6 separate regions of the Homo sapiens genome follow, and regions 1, 3, 4, 5 and 6 are each linked to region 2. The links are contacts of gene promoters, found by promoter capture Hi-C in blood cells and fetal thymus (Javierre and others, 2016). All regions are on one chromosome and are shown on one strand. The core of a region is centred on a gene start or on the middle of the fragment in contact, and the rest is flanking DNA. Distances in the headings are between cores, read along the strand shown.

What was found. The method cuts DNA at HindIII sites, captures the fragments that hold promoters and counts their contacts. A CHiCAGO score of 5 or more calls a contact.
Region 1: a fragment that was not itself captured here is called in contact with the fragment with the promoter of CAT in region 2 in 1 of 17 cell types (M2 macrophages); the score reaches 5.5 in M2 macrophages.
Region 3: a fragment that was not itself captured here is called in contact with the fragment with the promoter of CAT in region 2 in 1 of 17 cell types (megakaryocytes); the score reaches 5.6 in megakaryocytes.
Region 4: a contact is called between a fragment that was not itself captured here and the fragment with the promoter of CAT in region 2, in 1 of 17 cell types (erythroblasts). The highest score is 5.7, in erythroblasts.
Region 5: a contact is called between the fragment with the promoter of CAPRIN1 here and the fragment with the promoter of CAT in region 2, in 1 of 17 cell types (neutrophils). The highest score is 5.5, in neutrophils.
Region 6: a contact is called between a fragment that was not itself captured here and the fragment with the promoter of CAT in region 2, in 1 of 17 cell types (fetal thymus). The highest score is 6.7, in fetal thymus.

The regions. Positions count from the first base shown.
Region 1 is chr11:34,891,729-34,894,855 of GRCh38, reverse strand. All of the region lies in intron 2 of APIP (APAF1 interacting protein), which reads left to right. Among named protein-coding and RNA genes, the nearest start is that of APIP, 23 kb to the left of the region's middle. The HindIII fragment of the contact is 221 bases long and covers 1,301-1,521 here.
Region 2 is chr11:34,437,272-34,440,513 of GRCh38, reverse strand. CAT (catalase) reads right to left here and starts at 1,580. Exons shown (of 13, transcript NM_001752.4): 1 at 1,435-1,580. The coding sequence starts at 1,500. RefSeq lists enhancers at 1,248-1,547, 1,718-1,767. The HindIII fragment of the contact is 7,598 bases long and covers 1-2,372 here.
Region 3 is chr11:34,123,367-34,126,355 of GRCh38, reverse strand. NAT10 (N-acetyltransferase 10) reads right to left here. Exons shown (of 29, transcript NM_024662.3): 10 at 2,501-2,594; 11 at 1,956-2,054. Among named protein-coding and RNA genes, the nearest start is that of NAT10, 19 kb to the right of the region's middle. The HindIII fragment of the contact is 3,453 bases long and covers 1-2,989 here.
Region 4 is chr11:34,143,917-34,147,069 of GRCh38, reverse strand. NAT10 (N-acetyltransferase 10) reads right to left here. Exons shown (of 29, transcript NM_024662.3): 29 at 162-986. The coding sequence ends at 878. Among named protein-coding and RNA genes, the nearest start is that of NAT10, 40 kb to the right of the region's middle. RefSeq lists enhancers at 1,460-1,629, 1,860-2,099. The HindIII fragment of the contact is 715 bases long and covers 1,056-1,770 here.
Region 5 is chr11:34,050,267-34,053,304 of GRCh38, reverse strand. It overlaps CAPRIN1 (cell cycle associated protein 1), which reads right to left and starts at 1,574. Exons shown (of 19, transcript NM_005898.5): 1 at 1,434-1,574; 2 at 669-884. The coding sequence starts at 884. It overlaps LOC101929918 (a long non-coding RNA gene), which reads left to right. Exons shown (of 3, transcript XR_931177.3): 1 at 1-986; 2 at 2,272-2,634. RefSeq lists enhancers at 11-80, 151-220, 291-360 and silencers at 971-1,270, 1,311-1,860, 1,720-1,919. The HindIII fragment of the contact is 10,606 bases long and covers 1-3,038 here.
Region 6 is chr11:33,986,282-33,989,723 of GRCh38, reverse strand. No RefSeq gene overlaps it. Among named protein-coding and RNA genes, the nearest start is that of CAPRIN1, 64 kb to the left of the region's middle. The HindIII fragment of the contact is 206 bases long and covers 1,358-1,563 here.

The DNA.
Region 1 (3,127 bases), core at 162-2,661, 450 kb before region 2:
GAATGGAAGCAATGTACAAAAGCTGCAGATATGTCAAATAGCTAAAGACTGAAGATCCACAATTTCAAATCACAATAACTTAATACTCAGTTTTTGAGTACCAGAGTTAAATAACATGCTACCAAGTATGTTCATATACCTGAGATTCTAGAGGATCCTCTCTAGGTAGATAGGATTTGTTTCAAAGGTTCAGGTACTTTGGTTTTTGAAACAGAGTCTTGCTCTGTCACCCAGGCTGGAGTGCAGTGGGGCGATCATGGCTCACTGCAGCCTTGACTTCCCAGGCTTAAACAATCCTCCTACCTCATCCTCCTGGGCAGCTGGGACTACAGGCATGTGCGACCACGCCTGGCTAATTTTTTCTGGGGTTTTTTTTTTTTTTTTTTTTGTAGAGACTGGGTCTCACTAAGTTGCATGGGCTGGTCTCAAACTCCTAGGCTCAAGCAACCCACCTGCCTTGACCTCCCAGATACATATTTCAAAGTCACTTAAATACAGATGACTAATCATTAAAAATCCTAATAATTATTTTTTATTGAATCAAAAGAACGGCAGTATGCTTTCTAAGCACCTGTATCATTAATGAATATAGTGCCTGCTAATCTGTATTCCTCAGAGGACAAAACAAGATGTACTGGACTTAAATTGAAGCAGAAAGGATAAATAGTATTCAATTGCTCATTGTATTTATTTAGTGTCATTTATTCAAGAAGATGAAGAAATAAAGTAAGTATTAGTAACTGTGAGTAAGAAGTAACTTGCTATCAATGAAATTAAGATTATAGAATCTCATTCAAGGATTTCCAATACAGGATTAATCTTTTTTTCCTCCTGAAATGTGTTAGGAATATTATTGTCTGGAGGTTGTGTGTTAAATTGAGTGATGTTGATTTATTACTTCATTCTAATTCACTTTCTTTAACAAAATTGGATTATTAAAATATTTATGTGCTGTTGAATATATATAGTCATGCCCCCAAGGAGGCTGCATTGCATATTAAGGAATGGAATGTAAAATATAATCAGAACATTGGGAACAAAAGGGATTCAATGGTACACCACAAGATGATGCCATTATAATTTTATCTGCTTTAAATTACTGAGTTAACTCATGAAATTTTCATTGAACATTGGGAAATGACAAGAGGTTCCTCTGTTAACAACTGGCACAGTTAGGGATAAAAGTATGCTCTCAGTCTAGTAAGATTATGTTCCATATGGTAGATCAATAAATCCATCTGTGCCTCCTCTCTTACCATCAGCCTAGTTGCTAATGTGTAAATACAGCATTGCTCAAGCTTTCACATTATTTTGCCAAAACTTTCAAGATGGCCTATTCACAGCAAATCCTACGATAACAACATTTATTCTTGTTTCATGTATCCATTTAGAAGTTGAGTCCCAGTAATATAGTTTCCCAACTGTATTATTTATAATAAATCATATTCTAAATGCTGTCTTTAGTTAACTGCTTTTTATTTGCATGTTCAGAAATAGTTTGTGTATGTATAAAATAAAGCTTTCTACCAAATGAGCTAAAATAACCATTTCCAACTGGCTCTTTAAAAAAACTAGCAAAGTTAAAAATAGGTGAATGCAGGACTCAAGATGAAATATTTTTGATCAAAAAGACATAAAGGACTATGTTCTTTCTAGTAGAATTTTACTAATCCATGCACTACCATTTTATGTGACCACCATAAACCACTCATTGGCGCATCTTTTAAAATTAAATGGGCTTTTATAGCACTAAAATCAGCTCATAGGAAATTTTCATCATATATGTGAAATGCTTTATCCTTAGTTCTTAATGGGTGTGGAGGTCATGGAAGGAAAGAGCCACAGTCACATGGCACTGTATTTGGAATCTTATTAAATTTGTGCTTTACATAGTAAAATGAATATTTTGTAGTAAAATGTTGGTTTTTTTCCCTAATATTTAAATGACTTAATAAGTCACTAGCATTATCAGCAATACTATTCTCATGTTGTTAGTGAAAGTTTGGCTCTTTGATGCTTAGGGCAAATAAATTTGGAATAAAATGCAAACGCAATAAATTATGTTTCCAGAATAATACAGACAATAAGCTCTTTGGGAACATAAAATGATTTACTAATTCCAAGATTTGACTGGACCATTCCAGCTTATGCTACAAGTATGTGGTACCAAAAATTAAGTCAGAAGAAGGAAATAAATGACCAAGAAAATAATAGTAATCAAGGCAATTCCAGGATACTCAATAGCTACTGTGTTTAGGTTGGGTCGCTATCATTCAAATTTATAATTTCCTGTTTTCACAGAGTAATATTGACAGGTGTCAGAGAGACTGATCCTGTTGCATGTGATTAGGACTACAATTAATAAAGTCACATTGTAGACAAAATAATTGAGGCACTATAAGATTTAAATTATTTTTTAACTGACCAGAAAGCAAATAAAAATAGAAGCAACTGAACATAGATGTATTTTGACCTCTTGGGGTTTGGCCCTTGCTTACCACAGTGAAAATGCAGGAGTACAGAGAAGTATATTCCAAAATTTAGTAACTTGAAATTCAAAATGCTTTCTGTTTGTGGCTTAAAGCACCAAGTAGATATTTCACTTTAATATTTGGCATGTTTCTATTCTAAAAAGCTCTGTCATTTTTATATTTTTATCCAGATATCTCTTTCTTTGTAGGTGTAAATATATTTTTCTAAAACATTTGGCTAATCTTTTAATTACCCAAAGTTCATCAAAGTCTAAATTAATTTCCATTTTACAAAGACATTTACAACATACCAAGTCACTTGAATAAACAGAGTACCCTTGGTTTTCCTACTTTATAGATGGGTTTTACTTACCAGCAGACCATTTTGTACTTTATTTGAGTCTATTCCCAGGACTGCATAAATTTCTCCCCACATAAGAAGACCCACAAGTCCACTTATCTGTGGAGGTGAGTGGACCATGTACCATCCTAGAGCTTCTTCCATGTTACACAAGGACACAAGATTTGGATCACTGGTATTCACAAAGAGCCCTTGTTAATAGTATGATCCCAACCCATTCTCACTGGTTGCAGAGGAATGTCCCTTTATGTTATCCTTATGTTGCAGAACTCGGAAACAATAGCCACTTCATGAA
Region 2 (3,242 bases), core at 331-2,830:
TTTGTCCACACTTTTCTCAATTCACCGAGTATTCATGAAAACTTCAGTGTGAACCAGGATTTGCACCCACTGGGTAAGGAAAGAGTCTTGGGTCCAAGAAGCTGAATTCTAACCTTGTCTCTGCCACTAAGTAGTGGCACATCCTTTACTAAGACTCTACCTCTCTCTGGTTTACTTTAAGAGCTCATGAACCAACCTAATGGTATATAACAAAGAACAGGGCCAAGAGGGGAGATTTTCCAGGCCCTTGGAGGAGAATGGCAGCCTTTTCCCAAACAGGGAACCATTAAAGCAATCCATGAGCACTTAGCATTAATACCCCAGTTCACGAACCTGAGTTTTGAGCAAGAGCACTAGGCAGAATAGGGAAAACAGGGCTGCAGTCCTCTGTCTACCATTAACCAGCAGCCAGGGAACAGGGCAAGACCTTTAGACTCCCTGGGCCAATCTGCCAACAGTAGACTCAGACCAGATGTGGTCTCATCTAATCCAACCTCCTCATAGATGCCCTCTGAGACTCTGCAGCCGTGGGCACAGGCCAGGAATGCCTCCCCCACCACCAAGTTAAAATCCTACTCATTTAAAAAAATTCCTGTTCAAATGTCACCTGCTTTGTCCGGCCCACCTGGTCACTCCCTCTACATTCTACAGATAACCTCTATTAGAGCCCTCACCACGCTGGAGTGTAATCATCTGTTTATGTGTCTCGTCTCCCAGACTAGACTCTCAGCTTCTCAAGGGTGTTGTTCTTGCCGCACTGGAATTTGTACACCTTGCCCCGAACAGTGCCTAGCACCTACAGGTGCTCAAAGAATAGAATAAACGCATTAATCAATCCCTAATGTCACCCCCCAGCTCTAAAATGCTAGGCTTGACATTTTGAAGTGCAAATGAGACAATGAATGTAAAAGTTCTTTTATTTAGTCGTTTAATAATGTGCATAGTACGTACCAGTCACTGTGACTGGTGCTGGAGACCTCAAGATTGTAAAACACAATCCCTGCCCTGCTGGGACCCCACAACTATGAAAGCGTGTAAACAGTATTTCAAGAAGGGCACCATTAGAGCCTGGTTCCACTTCTCCCCTCACTGACTTCCTTGCAGCTGCAGCTCTCTGCCTCTTTCCCCATGAGCCCTCAATCTGTCCTCAAGCTGCGACCTCTGTCCCAGTTGGCAAAAGTGCAAAATTCTGAAGCAACCACCCGAGCCTGTCGCGGACAACAAAGCCTGCAGTCCCGCGCCCCACTACCCGGACCCCCCTCCCCTGCTTCGGCGAATGTAAAAGTCCGTCTGCACCGAAGGGGATCCCCCCTGCCCAGTGAGCCGCGGTACAGTCCCTCCAAGCGCCGCCCCGGGGGAAGCCGGGCCTTTACTTGCCGACGCCCCCGCTTTCTAAACGGACCTTCGGGCCCGCTCGGGGAGCACAGAGTGTACCTGCGCGGCCCGCTGCTCCTTCCAGTGCTGCATCTGGTCGCTGGCGGGATCCCGGCTGTCAGCCATAGCGTGCGGTTTGCTGTGCAGAACACTGCAGGAGGCCTCGGCTCGTGGGTCTCCACCCTCAGCAGGCAAATCTGCCTGTTGCCCCGAGTCCGTGGCGACTTCAGGCTCAGCCAATCAGCACCACCCCCTCGTCCCGCCCCCTCGGGAGGACTGCCTTCTGATTGGCTGCTCGGCGCTAGGCAGGCCAAGATTGGAAGCCCAATGGGCTCGGAGCAGGGCTCTCCGAAGGAGGCCTGAAGACCGGAGATACCCAGGAGGGTGCGGAAAGGAAGGGTCCCGCTCTGGCCCAGCAATTGGAGAGCCTCGCCCCGCCGGCCCGGGGTGCCCGGGATAGCCGAACCCAGGGCGGGGCTCCCGGTTATCAGCATCCTTCAGGCCGCCCTGGGACGCGGCCGTTGGTGGCCTGCCAGTTTTGCAGACGGAATACTTAGACCCTGCTGGGTGGGGCCTTGCGCTCCATAGCTATGCTTTCTCAGCTCTTAAAAAGTCAGCAATCCTGGGTTAAATTACTCTGTACAAAATTAAATTTTGCCATACGCTAATGTAAGTATTATTTGCAACCAAAGGATGGATGGATGCTTTTCTTTTTCTTTCTTAGCTCTTCTTAACTTATTCGTGGATTATCACTTACTAGACTAGTATACTAATTATTTAATATAAAAACACTCTGAAACGTTTATCTCCGTACAGATGGGTGTTGATTTCCTCCTTTACCAGAGAAAAACAACTTAACTTAGATGGGAAAAATGTATTCCCTTGTGATGGGAAAAATGTATTCAACTCTGGTACACTGCCAAATTGGCTTCTTTAAACACTGGAGAAATCTGCTTCCCCAAATTTTACCCCCAGGTAAGCAGGAATTTTGAAAAGCTTTGTGTCTTTAAAAAGCTATGTTGAAGAGTAAAATACTTAGTAATATATAGTACAATATTTAGTAAGTTACTGACTAGTTTGTCATTGTAATCAAAGAGTTTGAATGATTTCTACACCTCCTCAGGTGCTAGGATTTATCTTTAAGCACCTTAATATATATACATAGTATATACCATCATCTTCAAATTAAAAGTTATCAGCTTTTAATTTTTTCCAGTACAACTACATATAATGGGTGGATATATAATAGTGGAAACTTCACATGTTGTTCTTGATCTTACAAAAGTATGATAAGAATCTTGGGCATAAAAGTGGAACTTTAGCAGTTCATTGGAAAAGAAAGCCACAAATTGATCTTTAGCACCCTATACTTTTCCTATATTAAAAACAATTATAAAGATGCTGTTGGCTGTGTAATTTGGTGTCTTTTTCTACCTGCCCGATCCATACTGCCAAGACTGTAAACTCCATGTGGGTCAGGATCCTCCCATCCATAATTTATTGAGCACTTACTATATACCAGGGACTATTCTCAGCTTTTTGTATATTTGCTTAGTTAACCCTCCCAACAACCCTATGAGTTAGATACTAATATTATCTTCATTTTACAGATTAGGAAACAGAGGTATAGGGAGGTTAAATAACTTGCCCAAAGTTACACAGCTATTAAGGGATAGTCAGGATTCTAGCTTCAGCTGTTCATCTCCAAAGTCCACAGTTTGTTGAATAAATAAATGTTGAAATAATCGAGCAAATCATCTTCTTAACTAACCAACACAAATATCAACAAAATAAATAAGAGACCTGGAGTCATTTCTTAACCTTTATTCATTATATAAAAAAAAGCATGTTTTTTTTTCCTTTGTTTT
Region 3 (2,989 bases), core at 402-2,901, 310 kb after region 2:
ATGGACAGATAATTACGTAGTAAACATAGAAACACATGAACTGAAAGGACACACACCAGTATCAGAACTAAGTCACCCATGGGGAGGGACAGAAGGAAATAGGATGGAAAGGGGTTGAGGGACTTCAACTGTATTTGTGATGTTTTAGTTCTTTAAAACAAAAATCTAAATGACATTTGAAATATGAAACAAACACAGCAAACATCAAAATGTCAACAATACTTAAACCTGAGTGTTGGGTGCCTGAATGTTATATTGGTCTCTGCACGCTCCTATACATTTGAACTATTTCATTACAAATAAGATGTTCTGCTTTGCTACAAGCTGATGGGCCAGGGAGGCGGCAACCCCACCCATTTCTTTTTTTCATTTTTTGAGACAAAGCCTCACTCTGTCGCCCAGGCTGGAGTGCAGTGGTGTGATCTCGGCTCATTGCAACCTCTGCCTCCAGGGTTCAACCAATTCTCGGGTTCAACCAATTCTCCTGCCTCGGCCTCCCGAGTAGCTGGGATTGCAGGCGCATGCCACCACGCCTGGCTAACTTTTTTAAATTTTAGTAGAGATGGGATTTCACCATGTTGGCCAGGATGGTCTCCAACTCCTGACCTCAAGTGATTCGCCCACCTCAGCCTCCCAAAGCGCTGGGATTAGAGCCATGAGCCACCATGCCCGGCCAACCCTGCTCATTTCTAGCAGCAGAATGTACATCCTCAACAGGGCCCCAGATCTTGTCTTCTTCAAGGGAAAAACTAAACAAGCATCTCATAAAAGCAGCAGAAAGCAGCCCCCCAGGGGAGGTGAAGCCAACTTTTATCTAATATTCTTCTTTTTCTCAATCTTGAGCCCAAAGAGAGGCCTGAAAGGTACACAAATGGAGTCTCATAAAGTAAGGTCACCTCCTCTGTGCTCACACTGGAGACAAAAGAACTCTGGTAATATGAGAGAGTATTTGATTACAAATTCAAGAAGGAGCAAGGCCCGAGGCAGGGTATTTCAGGGAAATGTTTTCCTTCTTTGGTTTGTGTATTTTTCTTGAGTTTTAACAGGTCTCCGTGTTCTCATTGCCTGCAGCCTGACCCTCACCAACAGCAGCCTTTCCTCCTCCCAGCTGGGGGAATCGAGCAAAAGTGAGCAGAAATGTACAGAATGAAGAGATTCTAGAAAGAGGCTAGTAAGAAAAAATTAAGGTGAAAGGCATAAACACTTAACATTGTTTATAATCTGGCCTCTGATAAAAAGGTATAACTTCTTGACATGCATATACATATGCTTTGACAGGCATAAAGTGCTAGGGTATAAACTGCCAAATTCACCTGGCTCACTTCCCAACCCAATTCCAAAAATAATCAATGAACCTCCTCCAGTAAGAGCCCATTAGTCTCAGTCCGTCTGTAAGCCCATCACCTCATGCCTCTCTTAGAGATTTAGCAAAACTGCAGCCTTTGGACAAGTGCAGACCATTCAGGCTTACAGAGTGCTAGAGATTTTTAGAACTTTTGGGAAAACACTGTTTAAAAAAGAAAATAGGCCACTGGCTAAACCACAAAGATTCAGAGCACATTTTGCAAAGTTCTTTTTTTCATTTAAGCTGTAAGGTTATTGTTCTAGTTACAGATGCAACATTTCAAAAACTGCAATAACTAAGCAAAGTTAGAGCTGATGTCAGAAGAAAGATTCTCTTTTAGTTAATCAGCGTACTTTCCACCCCACTTATTCCATATTCAAAGGACAAAAACACAACTTTTCAATCTAACTACATATATTTGTTAGTTTGCTGAATGTTTTTCTTTAGAAGAGTCTGAAAATCTGGAACAGGTTTAGCATACAACACCACCATTGTCTAAAAGACATGCAATTACACAAGACATACATGTCTATAACAGGAAACATCTTAGAGCCAGTTAAATACAGCAAGACACTGGCCCTGCACATCAGGGTCTGAGAACAAGCCTCACCTGAATAGTCTGCCTGTGTTCTCGAAATACATTCACTCTGATCACTGCTTTGTTAAATTCAGGATTTAGAGACTGGATAATCTCATAATCCAGATGTTCCTGGTGGGGAGTCAAACCAATGACAAACTTTAGAAACAAGTTTCAGAAACTAAATATTATGAAAGTAAGCAAGTATTCTAAAGACTTCACTTGGATTTAAACCCAGCACTGTATCAAAATAAAAATCCTTTTTTTTTTTGAGATGGAGTTTCGAGCCCAGGCTGGAGTGCAGTGGCGTGATCTCAGCTCACTGCAACCTCCGCCTCCCGGGTTCAAGCGATTCTCCTGCCTCAGCCTCCCAAGTAGCTGGGATTACAGGCATGCGCCACCACACCCGGCTAATTTTGTACTTTTAGTAGAGACGGGGTTTCTCTATGTTGGTCAGGCTGGTCTCCAACTCCCGACCTCAGGTGATCCGCCCGCGTCGGCCTCCCAAAGTGCTGGGATTACAGGCGTGAGCCACCACACCAGGTCCAAAATAAAAATTCTTAATCCAAATTTCCTACCTGATATTGCAGAGCATCAAATCCTTTAAATACAAATTCAAACAGAGTATGGAGGTTATCAGGGCTTGGGGAGGTAACAAAGATATTGGAGTACCTACAGAACAAAATAAAAGAAGGATTTTTAAGAAATTAGGAACATCTTAAAGAAACAATTTAAAAAAGAAAATATTTTTGTTTGCTCCTGTCCCAAAGGTGATAACCAGAGGTAACAGCAAGGGAAAAAGTCAGGACACCTTTTGGGAAGGAAAGTAAAGCAACTCCAGACATTTAGCTACCAACATCTGTGAAAGCAAGCTGCTTAGAAGCACTGTGGAGACAACGCCCTCGGTGTGCAGAACAGACAGACTGCTTCCCAATCCAGTGCACTGCTACAAGAAGTAGTTTCATGCTCATCACTAGCTGTGCTGACGCTTTCAAATGGTGAAGCTGGGGAGCTCAATCGGTGCTCAGGCCAAGGCCAAAGCTAACCTCCAAGTTAGCTTTGCCTTG
Region 4 (3,153 bases), core at 164-2,663, 290 kb after region 2:
CCACCTGCCACTTCTCCCGCAGACTCCTGGGCTGGGAAGCCCTAGACACACTGCTCACCTTTGACCTTGATACCAACACCTTCCAAATTCCACCAGGCAGCCAAGACCCACCAGAAGAAACGTCCAGGTGCGTGGATTTCAGAACACTCACAGGCAGCTGATCTTTCTAGAATGTTATTTATTAAAAATAGATTCTCTATCCTTCCCCTCACCCCTGCGAGCAAAGTGGCCTTTCCCAACATCTTTTCCCAAATGGATGAAACAGGTCTTGAGGACGCAGATGTGGCATTCTACATAAACTACAGGATCAGGCTTTTCTGGGACAGTGGGTCTGCTGGAGCCAAGAGTGGAACAGCACAAGACAACATCAGCAAACCCTGGCGCACCTAACCGCGGGCTGCCATGGATGCCGGGACGGACTGGAGTTCCTCCTGCTCCAGGTACAAGTCCACAAAGAGAGACCCAGCGGCCCAGCAGCAGCCTCCTGGGCACCACCAGAAAGCGATGTACTTAAGGGCCTCAGGCGGTCGAGAGGCAACGTGGCTTCCACATGTGTGGGAATGAGACTAAAAAGCTGGCTCAAAGCAAAATATGAACTTATAGGAAAGGAGGGCCCTGGACTGGGCAGGAAGAGAGAGACTCGTGGCAATTCTAGAGATGGCAGTGCCCAGCCATCAAGTTCTAAAGAGACCCATTTGGGAGTGACTCTGCCTTTAGCCAGGTTGAGCTCACAGACACACAGGCCCAGAGGCCGAATTCGCGGCCAGCTTCCAGGTGTGCCGGGGCCTCTCGTTGCTTTTAACAGTCCAGCCAGAGAGGGTTCAGTTAGTGAGAGTATCTTCCCATGATCAAACACAGATGCCCGAGTTTCTCTTCACTATTTCTTCCGCTTCAGTTTCATATCTTTTTTGTTCTTTGTCTCTCTGTTCTTCAACTTCTTGCTCTGTTTGGGTTCTTGTTTGGCCTCTAACTTCCTTTTCTTGTCACTAGAGAAAAATCAAAAATAGAAAGAATGAAATATGTACAGATCTGAACATCTGAGACTGCTTTAAGCTTGCTTTGCTTTGTCAAAAAGGGTTTCCACCGTCTGAAACTTGATGTAGGCCACCCAATTGGACATTAATGTTCTCTGCAAACCTATTAGGGGGCAGGCATTGTGCTGGGGCTGGGGACACACCATACAGACCAGCTCCTGCCCTGAGCCAGCTCTTAGTCTGTGGAAGAACAAATCTCGATCTTAACACCTGAAATCCGGGTTCTCCTCAGGGTGCAGTACACTCTGCTCCCCTCTCCCAAGACAGACCTAAGGCACCACAAGGATTCCCCACCACCACTCTCACCACTGCAGTGACTCTGGAAACTAGACATATTCATCCCAATGACCCTGAAGACAGTCCTTAATACAAGGCATGAGACTCCAAGGAAAACCCTGCCATACTTTCTGATGTGCTACTATTATTTTATTTTTCCTATATGAGAAGAAGAAAACCCAAACAACAGTAACTCAGGTGACACCCTGCGACCAGCCCCTGGATTCTTCATTGATATCCTGGCATAGGAATCACTCAGCAAACGGCCACCTGCCATTAAGAAACTTACAGGTTAAATTTTGCTCTGGGAACAAATACTTCCCTATAAGGAGACCGTGAAGAGTTCAGTCCAGAGACCATTAACATCATATGAATGAAGTACCTCTCAAAGGAAGAAAAAGAAAGGCCTCAGAGGACTTAATGATAGCTACCAGTATTTTTAGCTCACAAAGTTCAAGCTTTCACATTTACTCAGAGCCATCAAGCACATGAACAACCACACAACACTGGTTTGTTGGGCTCGAGAGGCTTCTCACTACCAGCAATGGCCAAACAAATGGCAGGAAAGGCCAAGCTCTGCAGAGTGAGGAGCTGAGGCCGTCTCCACAGCAAGCATGCTCCCCGGCCTTTTGTTCCAGTCAAAGCCACCGTGCTCAAGGCCAAAGCCATCATGGGCCCTGTGCTACATTTGCCATACTGTACAAAACAGAGACAGGTCACACTGACAGTGGGCTTCTGTGCTGCACCACAAAGCATCTGGGAAATGAGGCCGGCATCGATGCTGGATCCTTCAAGATGCCACAGTGACTAACGGAGACTCTGGAAGACAGTACCTGATTTCTGGGATCTATAGTTCCTAGAGACACAAGGTTTCCTCTTCCCGAATGTTTCCAAAATATAAGCTTTTAAGGAAACCAATAAATAGGGGATTGCCAAAATCTCACCCTCCCCATCAACCCCCAAATCAGCTGTGAAAGCCTCAATTCCAGTGGCTCTGGGCAGGGGAGGCCTCATTGTACTCCCAGGGAAAACTGATGAAGGTTCCAGCCTAAGTTATTTACAAATGCACCACTCTGCAGATAAGAAGCTTGGAGTGAAGATTTTCAAAGAGTGGTCTAGGGACTGCTGGGGTCCCTAAGACCCTTTCAGGTGTCCACAAGGTCAAAATGTATTTGGATTAGTATGAAAACAGTTATTTGCCTTTTTTCATTTTCATTCTCTCACAAATATTCAGTTTTCCAGAGAGTATAAGATATGACAGCAAAATAGTGTCAGTGAAGACACAGACATTAGTATCCGGCTGCCTTCTGTTAAGCCAGATATTGAAGAGATTTGCAAAAATGTAAATGTAAAACAATGCCACTCTTCTCACCAAAATTTTTATGAAAAAGAGTATTTTTCAAAACGACTGAGTCCGTTATTACTGTGAACAAATGAATTTTTTTTAAATTTCTCAGTTTTTCATTTATTTTCTTTTTAAAATTTTTTTGCAGAGACAGGGTCTGCTATGTTGCGCAGGTTGGTCTTGAACACCTGGGCTCAAGCGATCCTCCTACCTCGGCCTCCCAAAGTGCTGAGATTACAGGCGTGAGCCACTGCACCTGGCCAGTTTTTCATTTCTAATATGGGAAATTTCCATAGATATAACCAACAAAAGTCCTTTGGGGACCTTAATTGTTAAGAGATAAAGGAACTCAAAGACCCAAAACCTTGAGAACTGCTGGCTCAAAGGAAGGACAACGTAACAGTTAAACCTATGGCCTTGCAGTGGAGAAACCTGGACTTGATTCTGGCTCCGGCTCTCACTAGCTGTGTGCTTCTTGGGAACTTAACCCCTGAGAGC
Region 5 (3,038 bases), core at 325-2,824, 390 kb after region 2:
CGGGGGGACACCTAAACAATTGAAACAAAGAGGGAAACGCAGGGGAGCCCATCGCATGGGCGCGGGGGTAGCAAATCGAAGACCCATTCAAAATGGGCCTGCCGGAAAGGCAGTTCTACCTTAAGATTCTAAACACACTTCTCTCCTACGGAAGAAGAGGGGACGCTCGACAGGTCTCGAGTGCATGGTAACCGAGCGGACAGACCCCAAGGCTGCAGGACGCAGGCCGCCCCAACTCCACGAGGCGGTCGGTTGAACCCGGAGCCCCCCGCGCAGGGACCTCTTCATTTTGGGCCCTCGTCAGAGAAATCGGGCCTCAGAGACGGAAAGAAGGGCACCATACAGTGAAGTCCTGACGACAGGCCCCCACCCTCACATGTCCCACTCCTAAAGGCCAAAAAGCCGGACCCACAGCGGAAGAGTAATAAAGAGGCCTGGGGTACAGTGCCGCGTCCGAGTCAGGTGACAAGTGCCTCTTCCAAGAGCCCGTTTTCTGGGCACGAAGCTCCCGCTGAACGTGGAGACGGGGCGTGTGGGCCAGGGGGTGGGAGGAGGGGACCTAGTAACGCTCCCGAGACGAAAAGAAGCGAAGGCTCCAGCGACCAGGGTCGGAGGGGCCGCAGAGCCCGGCCGCAGCCACCCCTCCCTTCCCCGCCAACTCCTGGCACCTTTTTCTTCTCCAGGTTCCGAAGTTTCTTGTCGATCACCCCGAGAATCTGCTTCATGGCCTCGGTCTGGACAGCGCCGGTGCCGGTTGCGGGGTGCTGAGAAGCCGGCGCGGCGGCCCCGGCTCCCGCGGCCGCCTCACTCCCGGAGGAACCCGACGGCGGTGGCGGTCCGGACGACTTGCTGCCGCTCCCGCTGTGGCTGGTGGCCGAGGGCATCTTCAGACCGCAAGGAGAGAGAAGAAAAAGCGGGAGGAAGGACAAGAGCGGCCAGTCAGGAGACGGACGGGGCGAGACGCGGGACAAAACGCGCAGCGAGCGGTAGCCTACGCGAGCGGGTGGGGGAGGGGGCGCGGCGCGCCTCGAGGGCAGGAAGAGTGCGCGGGCGCGCGCGCGACCCGCCAGCGGGGCGCCCGGCTGGGCCTCGCACCGCCCCCCGACCCGCCCCTCCCCCGCGGAGCCGCCGGCTCGGCCTACCAGCCCGGGGGCTCCGAGGCTCGCGCCGGAGGCGGGGCATCGCCGCGCCGGCCGCCAACGGCCACTGCAACGGTCCCTACCGGGGAGGGCCGGCTTTTGCCGGCTTCCGGAGAAGGGAGGAAAGAGAGAGGTCGGGGCTTGGGGGCAGAGAAGGGCATGGGAAATGACCGGGGTGGGGTGGGGGGACTTGGGGGCAAGCCCCTCGGAAGCTCCAGCGGGTCCGGAGATAAAGGACACCCGGGCGCAGCGGCCCTCTTCCCCTGCAGCGGCTCGGTCCCGGGTGGCGCTCACCGTGCGCGCGCGGAGGCCGCTGGAAATCACGAGTGGGCAGCTGAGGGGGCAAGGGTGGTGGTCCCTTCCGGGCAGTGTCGCGCGCTCCGTGGGCGCAGGCCGCTTCGCCCTGTCCCGCTGCACCGAGAGCCGCTCCTAGTGAGGCGAGAGCCGGGAGCGGGAGGGACTTAGCCAGCCAGCAGCCCTCTGGGTCGCGAGGGGCGGGAGAAGCGGAGAGCGGGGGCCTTCGCGGCCGCTCGGGCTGCCCGGCGCGAACGCCTGCCCGGAAGAGGCCGCCCGCTAGCTTCTCCGCCGTCCCCCGGCCCCGGCGCTGTGGGGCGCCTCCTGGACGCAGGTGGGGATGGCCCCGGCAAGGCCGAAGGAAAGGCCCCTTGAGTTTTGAGAGCAATCGACGCTAGGGTCCTTCAGGCGAAATCGTTTGACGCCCAAACGGGGACAATAGGTGTCAAGCAGCTGGCTCTGGAGCTGGCAACTGCCCCTTGAAGAGCCCTTATTTGGGGTGGGGGTGGGGGTTGGGGGGCAAAGGTTTCTGCAAGTAAGGGGTGCGTGGGGTGGGTGGTGCGATCCCAGCTTCTAGAATTCCTTCTGTATGCAGAGCGAGCAAACTCCATACCCCAAAACGTCTTTTGAAAAAAAGACAACTCGCCGCTTCCCCACCAAACAATCACCCAGTAACCTAGGAGTTCTCTGTAGAACGTGTCGGACACGGTCATGGTTGGTGGCTTTTTAAATCCTAAAGCTCTGGCCTCACAAAGAGTCTTCAGCTACCCTATGATGTTATACATCCAGTAGGCCTGAGTATTACGAATTATTAGACTTTTGTTTCCTTTTTTTTTAGGTTTACCTAACACTGTAAAGAGAACGTTCAATGAAATACAAAGAAAAAGATGATTTTTTTGCTCCAAGAGAATTATTCCAGCCTTGGGGTGGAGTGGGTGTGGACAGTGAGCAGAAAAACAAGAAACCAAGTTCTGGGAGGAAATAAAATGAATATAATCAGTGGAAAATTCAGCAACGCAATATTGTGTGACAACAGTAAATGACCAATTTATAATTTAAATTCTATGAAAAAGAGATTTAGAAGAGAGTTCTACCAAACCCACTGTTCCCTAGGGAATAAAATGAGTAACGCTGACTGGCAACAGTGCATCCTGAGGGAGCCTGGAGAAACAACAGCAGCCTCCGACCTCAAGATATCCTGGTTAGCTGCAAAGTCTGTTATATATTCATTCAAATATTTATTAAGCACCTTACTGTGTGCTGGGAACTCTTAAGTGCTAGGGATTATGAACAAAACATATTTACATGGAGCTTACAATCTAAGTAAGGGGAAGACAAGTAAATACATGTCAGATAGTGAAATGGTAGAGAAAAGAAAAAACGGTGGTCAGGGAAAGCCTTACTGACATTTGAGCTAGTACTGAAGGAAGTGAGGAAGAAGGCTAAGCAGCTACCTTGGAGGAGGAATTTTCCAGGTAGAGGAAACACCAAGTACTAAGATCTGAGACGGAGTGTGCTTTTTGGGTTCAAGGAACAGCACGGAAACCATAGTGGCAAGAGCAGAGAGTAGGAGATGAGGTCAAACATATTAAAGGGGGCTGGTCT
Region 6 (3,442 bases), core at 211-2,710, 450 kb after region 2:
GGGAGCTCGTTAGAACTGCAGAATCGCAGCCTTAGCCTAGCCATGCTGAGTCAGGATCTGCAAGTGTAGGTGCGACTCCACAGGCCTCACACCCATGGAGCTGGCCCTGCCTACAGGAGAGACATCTGCACGTGAAAGCATGAGAAGCATTGTCCTAGAGGATTTTGTGATGCAATCTTTCACCAACGGGATGGCTTTAGTTTTATCTTTTTGCCTTTTTATCTCAAAGTATTTTAAAATGTTTCATTTATGCTCCTTAATATATCCATTGGTCTTACTATAAAATAACATTTACCCCAAAAAACCTTGAAGGAAAACTGATACTCTGATATGGTTTGGCTCTGTGTCCCCACCCAAATCTCATCTCAAACTGTAATTCCCATATGTCAAGGCAGGGATCTGGTGGGAGGTGATTGGATCATGGGAGTGGTTTCTCCTGTGATGTTCTTGTGACGGTGTGTGTAAGTTTTCATGAGATCTGAAGCTTTGAAAGTGTTTGGCAGTTTCCCCTGTCTTCTCTTTCTCACCTGCTGCCATGTAAGACATGCCTTGCTTCCCCTTGGCTTTCTGCCATGATTGTAGGTTTCCTAAGGCCTCTCCATCCATGCAGAACTGTGTGTCAATTAAACCTCCTTTCTTTATAAAGTATCCACTTTTGGATATGTCTTTATAGCAGGGCGAAAATGGACTAATACATACTCTTAGATGATACACTGTGTTTACTTACCGTATCAGTACCTACAGGATTCTGCTTATTCCAGAAAGTCCACACATCCTAGTGTGGAAAACCTGGGCTTAGCCCATCCTAGGTGTAGACTGCAGAGCCCTTGCGTAGATGCTTTTGACAGAATCACCTCCATATGAGTTTCATGTCCTATTTGTCCAAGAAGTTGAGCATTCATGCAATGTCTCCTTAAACCCCTTATTTAAGCTCTCCAAATCTCAGTCTTCTCATCTATAAAATGGGAAGAATAGCACCTATCATCGAGGTATGTTGTGAAGTTTAAACAAATAATACATAAGGCCGGGCATGGTGGCTCATTCCTGTAATCCCAGCACTTTGGGAGGCTGAGGGGGGTGGATCGCTTGAGTCTAAAAGTTCAAGACCAGCCTGGGTGACATGGTAAAACCTTGTCTCAAAAAATAAAAACAAAAACACACAAAAAACTAGCCGGGCATGGTGGCGCATGCCTCTAGTGCCAGCTACCCGGGGGGTGGGGGGTGGGTGGGGAGGCTGAAGTGAGAGGATCGCTTGAGCCCGGGAGGCGGAGGTTACAGTGAGCTGAGATTGTGCCATGGCACTCCAGCCTGGGTGACGGAGAGAGAACTTGTCTCGAAAAAAAAAAAAAGAAAAGCTTAGAGTCTGGTGAAGATGACTTTTATATTTTTCAGTGAGAGAAACTATTTCTAAAAAGAACTCTAAGGTCACTGGGAGGAGCAACAGCAGCAGCATTGACAAGAGGGTCTCTTACACCAAGTCAACGTTCGTCGGTTGCATATTAAAGAATAAGAGCTGGGCAGCACTGTGGATGCCCCTCAAGGCTCAAGGGGGCGCTCTAAGCTTCAATTCTAGGGACTTGGCAAGCACATTCAGCCAGGGCTTGTGCTTTGAATACAAGCAGAGGCAGGGGAGTTTTGCAGAGAAGGAGGTAGGTGGGCTGTGCTTAGGAAAATTGGATTTTCTGCCAGTCTGGGCATGTGGAAGCTTGAGAGATGCATTTGGGAACATTTTTGGGAAAATATTTTTTACCTCTCAAATTCTACAATTGAATATGGTAACTTAAATATATGTATATATTTAGGTTATATACATTAAACATGCTATTGTAAAAATTTCAAATATTAGAGAAAGTGTAGCTTTGAAGGTGAAAGTCCCCCCACTATGGCCCTTCCACTTAAAGAAGAAAAAGTGTTAAGCGTATTTGTTATGCATATTTGCTATGTAAAGTGTTAAGCGTATTTGCTATGACTAAATTAACTACTCAGCTAAATCACTATATGTATACAAGAACATACGCATATGTTTTTATATAAGTATAAGTGCTGACATTTATTTTTTATTTATTTATTTTTTGAGACATGGTCTTGCTTTGTCACCCAGGCTGAAGTGCAGTGGTGCCATCTTGGCTCACTGTAACCTCTGCCTACTGTGTTCAAGTGATTCTTGTGCCTCAGCCTCCCGAGTAGCTGGGACTACAGGCATGTGCCACCATGCCTGGCTAATTTTTAAATTTTTGGTAGAGACAGGGTTTCGCCATGTTGGCCAGTCTGGTCTCGAACTCCTGACCTCAAGTGGTCCGCCTGCCTCGGTCTCCCAAAGTGCTGGGATTACAGGTATGAGCCACCATGCCTAGCCATGAATGCTGACATTTAGCTTCACAAGGCTAACTTGAGCTGTGAAGCAAAAGCCTGGAAAGCTTGTGTCGTGTGGCCCAGGACATGCTCTTCCCATGAGCAAGTAGCACAAAAAGCAAATTATCAGAAACTTACGATCTGAGTGTGGAAACAAAACAAAGGGAGGAAATTAATCTTCTGAAATTTCTCTCAACTAAGAGGGTACCCTTCTCTTACTCCCCCTCCAGCACATCCGGGAACTAGTATCTCACAGCACATATTTTGAAAAATGCTGACTTTCTGTTTGTCATTTTTAGGTTTCCTTAAAGCAGAAATTATAGCTAGGTTATGTTGTTGCCTTTTAAATTATTTTTTTTTTAGTTTATTTTTTTATTGATCATTCTTGGGTGTTTCTCGCAGAGGGGGATTTGGCAGGGTCCTAGGACAATAGTGGAGGGAAGGTCAGCAGATAAACAAGTGAACAAAGGTCTCTGGTTTTCCTAGGCAGAGGACCCTGGGGCCCTCCGCAGTGTTTGTGTCCCTGGGTACTTGAGATTAGGGAGTAGTGATGACTCTTAACGAGCATGCTGCCTTCAAGCATCTGTTTAACAAAGCACATCTTGCACCACCCTTAATCCATTTAACCCTGAGTGGACACAGCACATGTTTCAGAGCGCACAGGGTTGGGGGTAAGGTCACAGATCAACAGGATCCCAAGGCAGAATAATTTTTCTTAGTACAGAACAAAATGAAAAGTCTCCCATGTCTACTTCTTTCTACACAGACACGGCAACCATCCGATTTCTCAATCTTTTCCCCACCTTTCCCCCCTTTCCACTCCACAAAACCGCCATTGTCATCATGGCCCGTTCGCAATGAGCTGTTGGGTACACCTCCCAGACGGGGTGGTGGCCAGGCAGAGGGGCTCCTCACTTCCCAGTAGGGGCGGCCGGGCAGAGGCACCCCTCACCTCCCGGACGGGGCGGCTGGCCCGGGCCGGGGGGCTGACCCCCCCCACCTCCCTCCCGGACGGGGTGGCTGGCCTGGCGGGGGCTGACCCCCACCTCCCTCCCGGACGGGGTGGCTGCCGGGCGGAGACGCTCCTCAC